Linked DNA regions of Homo sapiens: region 1 is linked to region 2. The links are contacts of gene promoters, found by promoter capture Hi-C in human tissues and cell types (Jung and others, 2019). All regions are on one chromosome and are shown on one strand. The core of a region is centred on a gene start or on the middle of the fragment in contact, and the rest is flanking DNA. Distances in the headings are between cores, read along the strand shown. Region 1 overlaps LOC107987282 (a long non-coding RNA gene). Region 2 holds the start of NEURL2 (neuralized E3 ubiquitin protein ligase 2).

Region 1 (4,785 bases), core at 443-2,942, 400 kb before region 2:
CCTTCTCTACCCACCGTGGAACATGAGAGATCTGGAAAGTTTCAGTGACATTGTCTGGAATATCTGGCCAGCCTGGCTTGGTGTCTATCAGGCTTTATCTTCCTCATCTTCTTGTGGGACCAGGGACCAGGGACCAGACAAGGCCCCAGGGCATCTCCATTCACTCCCAGGGGCACAAACTGATAGAGCCTCCTGGTGGGAGTGGGGATGCTTTGTGCATATGATAGCCCCTTGGCCAGAGATGGCAGTGTAGATTTTCCCAGCTCCCCACTTTCTGATTTCTATTTTTGTCCATGCTCGGGGCTCCCCAACCTTTTAGGCAGAAACAGAGGCATCCAGTGATGGGTTGGGAAGAGTTGCTGGGAACTCGGTGTGTGACTACCACTAGCTCCACTTTCTCCTGTCCTTCTACAGGTTTGCATTCTGAAAGAGTGGCCCAGGCAGGGTGATGTCTAACCCAGGGATGGCAAAGGTGTCCACATGCCATCATTTCTTCCACCAGCACCCATATCACATGATTGCTGCTCCTTTCCATTAGCCCATGTGTGGCCACAGAGCCCTCAGCACAGGGCTCCAGGCAGCTGCTACAGCTGCCCATTGATTGGGGTTGATAGATAGATTTGCTACCCCTGATTTAACTCAAGAAATAAAATGCTAATGGTGAAAAGTCAGACCTGGCAGTTGAGGTTTTACTGAGTAAGAAGACTGCACAGGGGACCCTGAGCAGGGGTCCAAAGGAGATGGGACCTCAGGCCCTCCACCAGAAGCTTAAGAGGGGGTAAAGCTTTTTCAAGGGGTCCCTAGCCCAGAGGCCTCCTGCAGAAGATGAGGTGGAAGTTGCCAGGGATCTCAGTAATGCACAGGAAGAAGCTACCAGGGAAGGAGGACTGAGAGGTGGGATGGGGCAGGTAAGAAAGCAGGGGTGGGTTAGACGAGGCAGAACCTCTGGCTGAGACCCTTCCTTTAATTTTCTTTTTTAAGCTGCTTGGTCAATAAGTTTATTGTTTTTATCTGAATAATCTTATAGAAAATGACTATTTGCCAGACGTGGTGGAACGTGCCTATATTCCTAAGTACTTGGAAGGCCAAGTGGGGGAGGATTGCTTGAGCCCAGGAGTTGGAGGCTACAGTGAGCTATGATTGTGCCACTGCACTCTGACTTGGGTGACAGAGCGAGACTCTGTCTCTGAAAAAAAAAAAGAAAAAGGAAAAAGAAAAGACAAGAAAATAGTTGTTTGGCTTAGCGCTCAGCAGCCTGCTCCTGAGCTCTTAGAAAACTTGCCTTCTGAGCTACTCAGTCTTTCTTCTGGACAGGGGACGTCTTGGGATGGTTCCACCTTTTCTTAACTTCTTCCCCAGGCTTCCTCTCGTGAACTGGATTCTCTTGTTCAGCATCATGAGCTTTCTTACATGTCTCTCCGTCATGACTGGAGTTATGTTGTTCTTTATGTATTGAGAAAATTGTTTCTTGTAAACATCTTCATCTTCTTACATTGGGTAATGCATATAATCTGCGATCTTCTGACCCAGGATGTGCTTCTGCATTGAACTCCCTGCTTTCTGAATTGGAACCAGGGAATTGTTTGGTAACTGTGAGGGATAGAAAACCTCAATCCACACCTCCCTTCAGGGCCCCCCTACCTTTATTTCCGTTGGTAGTTCTGGCAAGTAGCAAGTGAAGGCACCAAGTAACCATCAATGCTTCCCATGTGATACCCATCTCTGCTCACCTCCACTTGACCTTCATAGGTGTTGTCCATGCCAAGACTATTGAGGGGCCTTCGGGTCAGCACAGGCCAGTACAATGTGCTGCATCATAATCTGGCTGGCCAACCTTCATGCTACACTTTAGACATTCATGAACATATGCTGTGCAGACAATCATATTCCCTTCTGTGTGGGCAAAAACCATATGACAAATGATCTCTCTGTTAGTTGCATGAACTATCCTGAATTTTGGTGTGTTCTACTTATTTTCATCCTGGATTACCAAGTGTGTCTGAGCATAGTAATCAGTTTAACCCACTGGTCTTCTAAATGTCATCTGTATCTCTTAAAGTAGGCCTTACTCTTAACAATTTTAACACACTCCATCCTCCGGAACAGAGAGCTGTGTCCATGGCTTGACACAGACCTGCAGCGTGCAAGGGGGGCCAGGCAAGGCGGAAGCCCTACGATCATTCTTTGATCAACTTTTGCAGCCAAGTGAATGCTGTAGGTTGGGGACTCTGAAGATTTGTGATTGGAAAGGGGGAAGGAAAAAGGACAGGGTCCCAGACTGGTCTCTTCCCCCTCTTCCAGGCCTTGATGGGCCACACTTGATATAGGCAGACCACAGCAAAGCTTAGTTTTGGCCAGGAGAACAGCTCCCAGGGCCCAGGAATCCCAGTAAACAGGTGGATCGAGATGGGACAGCCAACCTCAAGGCCCCTCACAGAACCACTCAGCCCAGCTGCCCCTCCAGACGTCAGGGCAGGGCTTCTTCCCGCACTTATTTTCTCCCATTTCCGATGGCAAACTGCTTTGCAGATGCCTCTAAAGGCCATCCCCAGCCCAGGAAGCCATGTATGGTAATACCTACATGGAAACAGACATCTTCTCTGCAGGAAAGTGCAGGTTTGGGGTTGGAGCGATAGTAAGAAGTTACATGAGTGAGCTGGAGCTTAGAAAATAAAGTTCTAAAGACAGACCAGTCAGGGAGGGGAAGGTCCTGCCCCAGAAACAACATCAGCAGAGGCATTCACTCATTCAATATTTATAAAGCACTTACTATGTGTTCTATTCTAGGTGGTGGGGATTTGATAGAAGGAAAAGAGTGTGTGTGTGTGTGTGTGTGTGTGTGTGTGTGCGGTGGAGAGGATAGCCAATAAATAAATGAACTAACACATATATAACATGTTAGGTGGAGGAAAAGTTATGGAGAAATACACAGGTAAGAGGAATAGTGAGTCTGGGGGTGGGGTAGAGATGGGGGTGATTACTTTGCAAAGTAGTCAGGGAAGGTCTTAAAGTATTATTCAAGTAGTGAACTCAGTGAAGGAGGACATGAGCTGCGTGACAACCCATGAGAAGAGGAATTTAGAGAGAAGAGAGTTCCAGAACAAAGGACCTGAGGTCAGAGTGTTCTCAGGGTGTTGGGGATCATCCAGGAGGCTGGCATGGCTGGGGTGAATGAGTGGTCAGGAGCCTGAGGTGAGTTGAAGTCAGAGAGGTAGCATGGGCACAGAGAATAAGGGCCTTGTGGCTCATTGCAAGGATTTTGCCTTTTATTTGGAGCAAATTTGGGAGCCACTGGAGGAGTTTGAGCAGAAGAGTGACATATGACTTCAGTTGGAAAAGGATCCTTCTGGCTGCTGTGTTGTGAATACTACAGGGGAGATGCAGAACCAGGGAGGGCAGGTAGGTCACTGCAACAGGGCAGGCAAAAGCTGGCTTAAAAAAATGCTTCAGGCTGGGCATGGGGGCTCACACCTGTAATCCCAGCACTTTGGGAGGCCAAGGCTGGCAGATCACGAGGTCAGGAGCTCGAGACCAGCCTGGCCAACATGGTGAAACCCCGTCTCTACTAAAATACAAAAAAATTAGCTGGGTGTGGTGGTGCGTGCCTGTAATCCCAGCTACCTGGGAGGCTGAGGCAGGAGAATTGCTTGAACCCGGGAGGCAGAGGTTGCAGTGAGCCAAGATGGCGCCACTGCACTCCAGCCTGGGGGACAGAGCGAGACTCCGTCTCAAAAAACAAACAACAAAAAACTCTTCATCCAGTGGTATGAGGCCCCCCACACTGTCAGGTAGAAATCTTGGCTTCCTTAAACAAACCTTTATTGTTTCCCTTATTGGAAGTATTCCTTCCTTGGTTTCTAAAACACCGCAGAGCCCTGAGACACAACATTTAACATAATCATAGTAATGCTGAATTACAAGCCAACTCAAAATTCAGTGACTTAAGGCAACAATCATTCGCTCTCACTCCCATATCTGTGGGTCTGCTGGGGTTCAGCTGATCTAGGCTGGGCTCAGCTGGTTCTTCTTGAACCAGCAGGTTCCATAAAATGTATTCCCTGGGTCACCTGAGGTCAGGAGTTCCAGACCAGCCTGGCCAACATGGTGAAACCCTGTCTTTACTAAAAATATGAAAAAAATTAGCCAAGAATGGTGGCGGACGCCTGTAATCCCAGTTACTCAGGAGGCTGAGGGAGGAGAATCACTTGAACCCAGGAGGCGGAAATTGCAGTGAGTGGAGATCAAGCCATTGCACTCCAGCCTGGGTGACAAGAGTGAAACTCGGTCTCAGGCTGGGCGCAGTAGCTCACGCCTATAATCTCAGCACTTTGGGAGGCCGAGGCAGGTGGGTCACGAGGTCAGAAGTTCGAGACCAGCCTGGCCAAGATGGTGAAACCCCATCTGTACTAAAAACACAAAAATTAGCCGGGCGCGGTGGTGGGCACCTGTAATCCCAGCTACTCGGGAGGCTGAGGCAGGAGAATTACTTGAACCCAGGAGGTAGAGGTTGCAGTGAGCCGAGATCACGCCACTGCACTCTAGCCTGGGTGACAGAGCAAGACTCTGTCTCAAAAAAAAAAAAAAAAAAAAAAAAAAGCAAAACTTGGTCTCAAAACAAAACAAAAACACATTCTCGTAGGATTGGTAGAAGGATAAGCACAGATTCCAAGTCTGTGCTTTCATCATGTCTGTTAGCATCATTAGCCAAAATAAGTCACATACCAACCCCGAAGTTAAGGGGCAGAGAAATATACTCTGCCTCTAGTGGAAGAAACTGCAGACTCT
Region 2 (4,419 bases), core at 1,920-4,419:
TCACTTTGTCGCCATGACTGGAAGGCTGGAGTGCAGGAGCAAGACCTCAGCTCACTGCAACCTCTGCCTCCTGGGTTCATGCAATTCTCCTGCCTCAGCCTCCCGAGTAGCTGGGACTACAGGAACCTGCCACCACACCTGGCTAACTTTTGTATTTTTAGTAGAGACAGGGTTTCACCATGTTGGCCAGGCTGGTCTCAAACTCCTGACCTCAAGTGATCTGCCCACCTCGGCCTCCCAAAGTGCTGGGATTACAGGCCAGGTATTGGTATTTTTCAAAATTCCTCAAGTGATTATAATATATGACAAAGTTGGAACCTTTTTTCTAGGGACATACTTCTCAACCCTGGCTGTACATGAGAATCTCTTGAGAAGCTTTTACAAAACACAATGTCTAGGCCTAATTTCCCAACAAATCAAATACGAATCCCTAGGGATGGGATGTGGGACACCAGCACTCTTTACATATCCTAAGATGACTCTAACAAGCAGCCAGCCTAGGGACCCCTGCTCTTTTGCTCCGACCTGCTGACCTGCAGTGATTCTAAACGAAGTGACTCTCATAGGCTGTAGGGGCAAGGAGACCTTCCAGTGATCAAGATGTCAGCATCGGCTGTTTATTTCTGGTCTTGGCTGGCAGCAATGTGGCCAACTTCGGACCAGCCAGCCACAGGTCTGGGGCTCCAGGATGCAGCTGTGCTCTGGTGCACTGTGGGTCTTCACTCATACTTGCAGAAATCCTTAAGTTCTTTGGGCAGGTGGAGCCCATCAATGGCCAGCCGGTGCACCATGCTCCTTTGTATCACTAGGCGGCACAGAGTCTGCAGGGATGGCACTGTGGGAAGAAGACTGTGAAAGGCAAACTGAACTGGAGGGTGGGTCTGAGGCCAAGATCCAGAAGGTCTAGGTCATGGTCCCCACTTTGTCATTAAATGTGGGCAAGTCCTTACTGCTCTCTGGGCCCAGCCTGCTTCATGGGGCTGAGAGAAGCACCTCTTCCTGAGAGCTGCCACAAAGCTGCAGCCCTGTTTATATCATAACACTTAGCACAATCCCTTCCCCATTCACTTAGCAGCTTCTGGGGGCAGGGGTAGTGTCTGATTTGCCTGTGCAACTGAAGCCTCCAGCACAGGCCTGGCACAAAGAGGGTTCTGGTGCATTGAGTTCATGAAATGTGATGAGAGGTATAACTGCAATGCTTACCAGGGCTATAATGAATCATACTCAGCATTAAGAAGCTCTCAGTCTGGGGTTTGTTATGCCTCGAAGCCAATAGCCAATATGCCCAAGTCTATGAGCATGTTTCTTTCTTTTCTTTCTTTTTTTTTTTTTATTTAAAGAGAGAGGGTCTTGCTCTGTCACCCAGGCTGAAGTGCAGTGCTCAGTGAACTGCAGCCTTCAATTCTTGGGCTCAAGCGATCCTCCTGCCTTAGCCTCCCAAATAGCTGGGACTACAGGCATGCACCACCATGCCCAGATAATTATTTAATTTTTTGTACAGATGGGGTCTCACTTTGTTGCCCAGGCTTGAGCTAGCTAGCTTGCTTGCTTGCTTGCTTTCTCTCTCTTCCTCTCTCTCTCTCTTTCTTTTTTTTTTCAGAGTCTTGCTCTGTTGCCTAGGCTGGAGTGCACTGGTGAGATCTCGGCTCATTGCAACCTCCACCTCTCGGGTTCAAGTGACTCTCCTGCCTCAGCCTTCTGAATAGCTGGGATTATTGGCACATGCCACCACACCCAGCTACTTTTTGTATTTTTAGTAGAGACAGGCTTTCACCATGTTGGCCAGGCTGGTCTCGAACTCCTGGCCTCAAGTGATCTGCCTGCCTCCCCCTCCCAAAGTGCTGGGATTACAGGTGTGAGCCACTGTGCCCGGCCAAGCATGTTTCTAAGAAAAGGGCAAACAATTCTCAAAGAGGCCCCTAATATCTAAAATTGGTTTAGAATCCCTGCCCTAGGTGAATACAGGAAACACTATCAAAACTAAAAGGGAACTTGTAGGGCATCTTAATCAATCAACCAAGATAGGTACCAAGGCCCAAAACCATGTAGAGGCTTGTGCAAGATCACAAGCAGAGGTGCAATTTGAAGCTAGATTCTCCCACTCTTAAACTAGTGCCGGACAGACGAAGGCCTAGCACATGGGCTACGGAGCCCTAGTAGATTCCAGTCCCCACACTGAGCCAGGAGGGGTCGCTGCCCAGGGATACCTACAGCCATACTCGAGCTGGACAAGGCGCACGCTCTTTGTGGAAGCAAACACGTCCACCACCGCGTAGAGGGGCTGCGCAGCTGGCAGTCCCCGGGCGCTCGGGCCCATGTCCTCGCCGTTGATGATGATGTGCATGTCGGCCGTGCCATCGGGGCGCGGGCAAAAGAGGACACCCAGGCGGCTACGGCGCGCGGTCGGAGGCAGCACGTTCAGCTCATAGAGCTGGTCCAAGAGATGGCTGTAGAGCCCTGGCCGGCTGCGGCCCACCAGGCGGTCCCGGGGAATGCGAAACTGCTCAATGCGCAGATATGGTTCCACGAGGAGGGTTGGAGGTCGGCTGGGGGCCGCTGCCTCCGCCTCCGGGCGGCCCTCCCGGGGCACGCGGTTGTGGTGGCGCGTGATGGCGAAGACCCAGGTGTGGCCCAGGTTGACCAGATCGGGCAGAGAAAACTCGGGAACGGGGGCCAGACTGGCGGGGTCCAGCGCGGTCAGACCGAGACGCAGATGTCCGCACCAGCCCAGCTCTTTCTCCTCGATCTCGACCAGGAAGACCTGGCCCGGGGCCAGCGGCTCGCGGCTGAAGCACACGCCGTGGGCGAAGCTCTCCACGCGTGTGGCCCGCGTCCCAGAGGGGTCCACGCGGATGTTGGCACCGTGCACCCGATGGAAGCGGGTGGGAGGGGGCTCCGGGCGCTCGAGTCCCCAGAGTGCACCCGAATCCACGGGCTCGGAGGCAGCAGCCATCTCTCGGCCATAGGGCAGGCCAGCTGGCGCCGGGGGCTATTTTGGGCGGCGGGCAATGATGGTGACCGCAAGGCGACCTTGTAAGGCATTTCCCCCCTGACTCCCTTCCCCGAGCCTCTGCCCGGGGGTCCTAGCGCCGCTTTCTCAGCCATCCCGCCTACAACTTAGCCGTCCACAACAGGATCATCTGATCGCGTGCGCCCGGGCTACGATCTGCGAGGCCCGCGGACCTTGACCCGGCATTGACCGCCACCGCCCCCCAGGTCCGTAGGGACCAAAGAAGGGGCGGGAGGAAGACTGTCACGTGGCGCCGGAGTTCACGTGACTCGTACACATGACTTCCAGTCCCCGGGCGCCTCCTGGAGAGCAAGGACGCGGGGGAGCAGAGGTGAGCTGGCACCGGAGGCTGGAGGGGATCCCCGAGCCCGGGATCGGTGCGCGGCAGAGGAGGCTCGCGGGTGGGAGCTGGCGCTGGGGCCGGGGCTTCCCTCGCGGAGGCGCCGCCAGCAACTCCCCGGGGGCTGCTGCACGGAAGCGCTGAGGAGCGAGTCAACAGCCCCTCTGCTGCCTCCCGTAGATGATCCGAGCCGCGCCGCCGCCGCTGTTCCTGCTGCTGCTGCTGCTGCTGCTGCTAGTGTCCTGGGCGTCCCGAGGCGAGGCAGCCCCCGACCAGGACGAGATCCAGCGCCTCCCCGGGCTGGCCAAGCAGCCGTCTTTCCGCCAGTACTCCGGCTACCTCAAAGGCTCCGGCTCCAAGCACCTCCACTACTGGTCTGCCGCCCTGCCTTCTGGGCGGGATTGGGAGAAGAGATGACGGATGAGGGATGGGGGGTAGTTCTGCAGACCCCTGAGGATGCCTGGGAGCCGGGAGGGCTGGAAAGGGCCCCTCCAACTGCGCCAACCCTGCCCTGACCCCCCTCCCAGGTTTGTGGAGTCCCAGAAGGATCCCGAGAACAGCCCTGTGGTGCTTTGGCTCAATGGGGGTCCCGGCTGCAGCTCACTAGATGGGCTCCTCACAGAGCATGGCCCCTTCCTGGTGAGTGGACAGCAGGGGGAAAGCACAGTTCCCAAAGTAAAAGGCTGGGGAAAGCGAGAGAGGGGCTTTGTGATTTTCCAAAAAGTTTCCTTCCTTCTAAGCCTCGGGATTTTCCTCTATGCCATTGGCTTTGCTGCCTGTACCTCTCAGAGGTTTTACCCACATGTAAAGTGCCTCTCATGGTGGCCCTTTCCCTCCACCCAGCTGGCCCTTGGGACTTACTCAGCCATCTCTTTCCTCCTCAGGTCCAGCCAGATGGTGTCACCCTGGAGTACAACCCCTATTCTTGGAATCTGGTATAGCTGGAGCTGTGGGTGTGTCTGGGCACTTGGATGGGGTGGCATTTAGCTAATTTTTCCCTCCCCTCTAGATTGCCAATGTGTTATACCTGGAGTCCCCAGCTGGGGTGGGCTTCTCCTACTCCGATGAC

Evidence for each region. The method cuts DNA at HindIII sites, captures the fragments that hold promoters and counts their contacts. A contact is called where the count stands out against the background at its distance.
Region 1: a contact is called between a fragment that was not itself captured here and the fragment with the promoter of NEURL2 in region 2, in 2 of the 25 tissues and cell types used here (mesendoderm cells and thymus).

What each region holds. Positions count from the first base shown.
Region 1 is chr20:45,489,578-45,494,362 of GRCh38, forward strand. The region is part of intron 1 of LOC107987282 (a long non-coding RNA gene); the gene reads left to right. It also overlaps the pseudogene RPL5P2. Among named protein-coding and RNA genes, the nearest start is that of WFDC2, 22 kb to the left of the region's middle. The HindIII fragment of the contact is 6,084 bases long and covers 1-4,734 here.
Region 2 is chr20:45,888,039-45,892,457 of GRCh38, forward strand. It overlaps NEURL2 (neuralized E3 ubiquitin protein ligase 2), which reads right to left and starts at 3,170. Exons shown (of 2, transcript NM_080749.4): 1 at 2,212-3,170; 2 at 596-835. The coding sequence starts at 2,953. The coding sequence ends at 720. It overlaps CTSA (cathepsin A), which reads left to right and starts at 3,297. Exons shown (of 15, transcript NM_000308.4): 1 at 3,297-3,341; 2 at 3,531-3,724; 3 at 3,878-3,989; 4 at 4,235-4,285; 5 at 4,360-4,419. The coding sequence starts at 3,531. It also overlaps a transcript of SPATA25 not described here. RefSeq lists enhancers at 2,635-3,344, 3,584-3,633 and a silencer at 3,274-3,543. The HindIII fragment of the contact is 2,972 bases long and covers 2,513-4,419 here.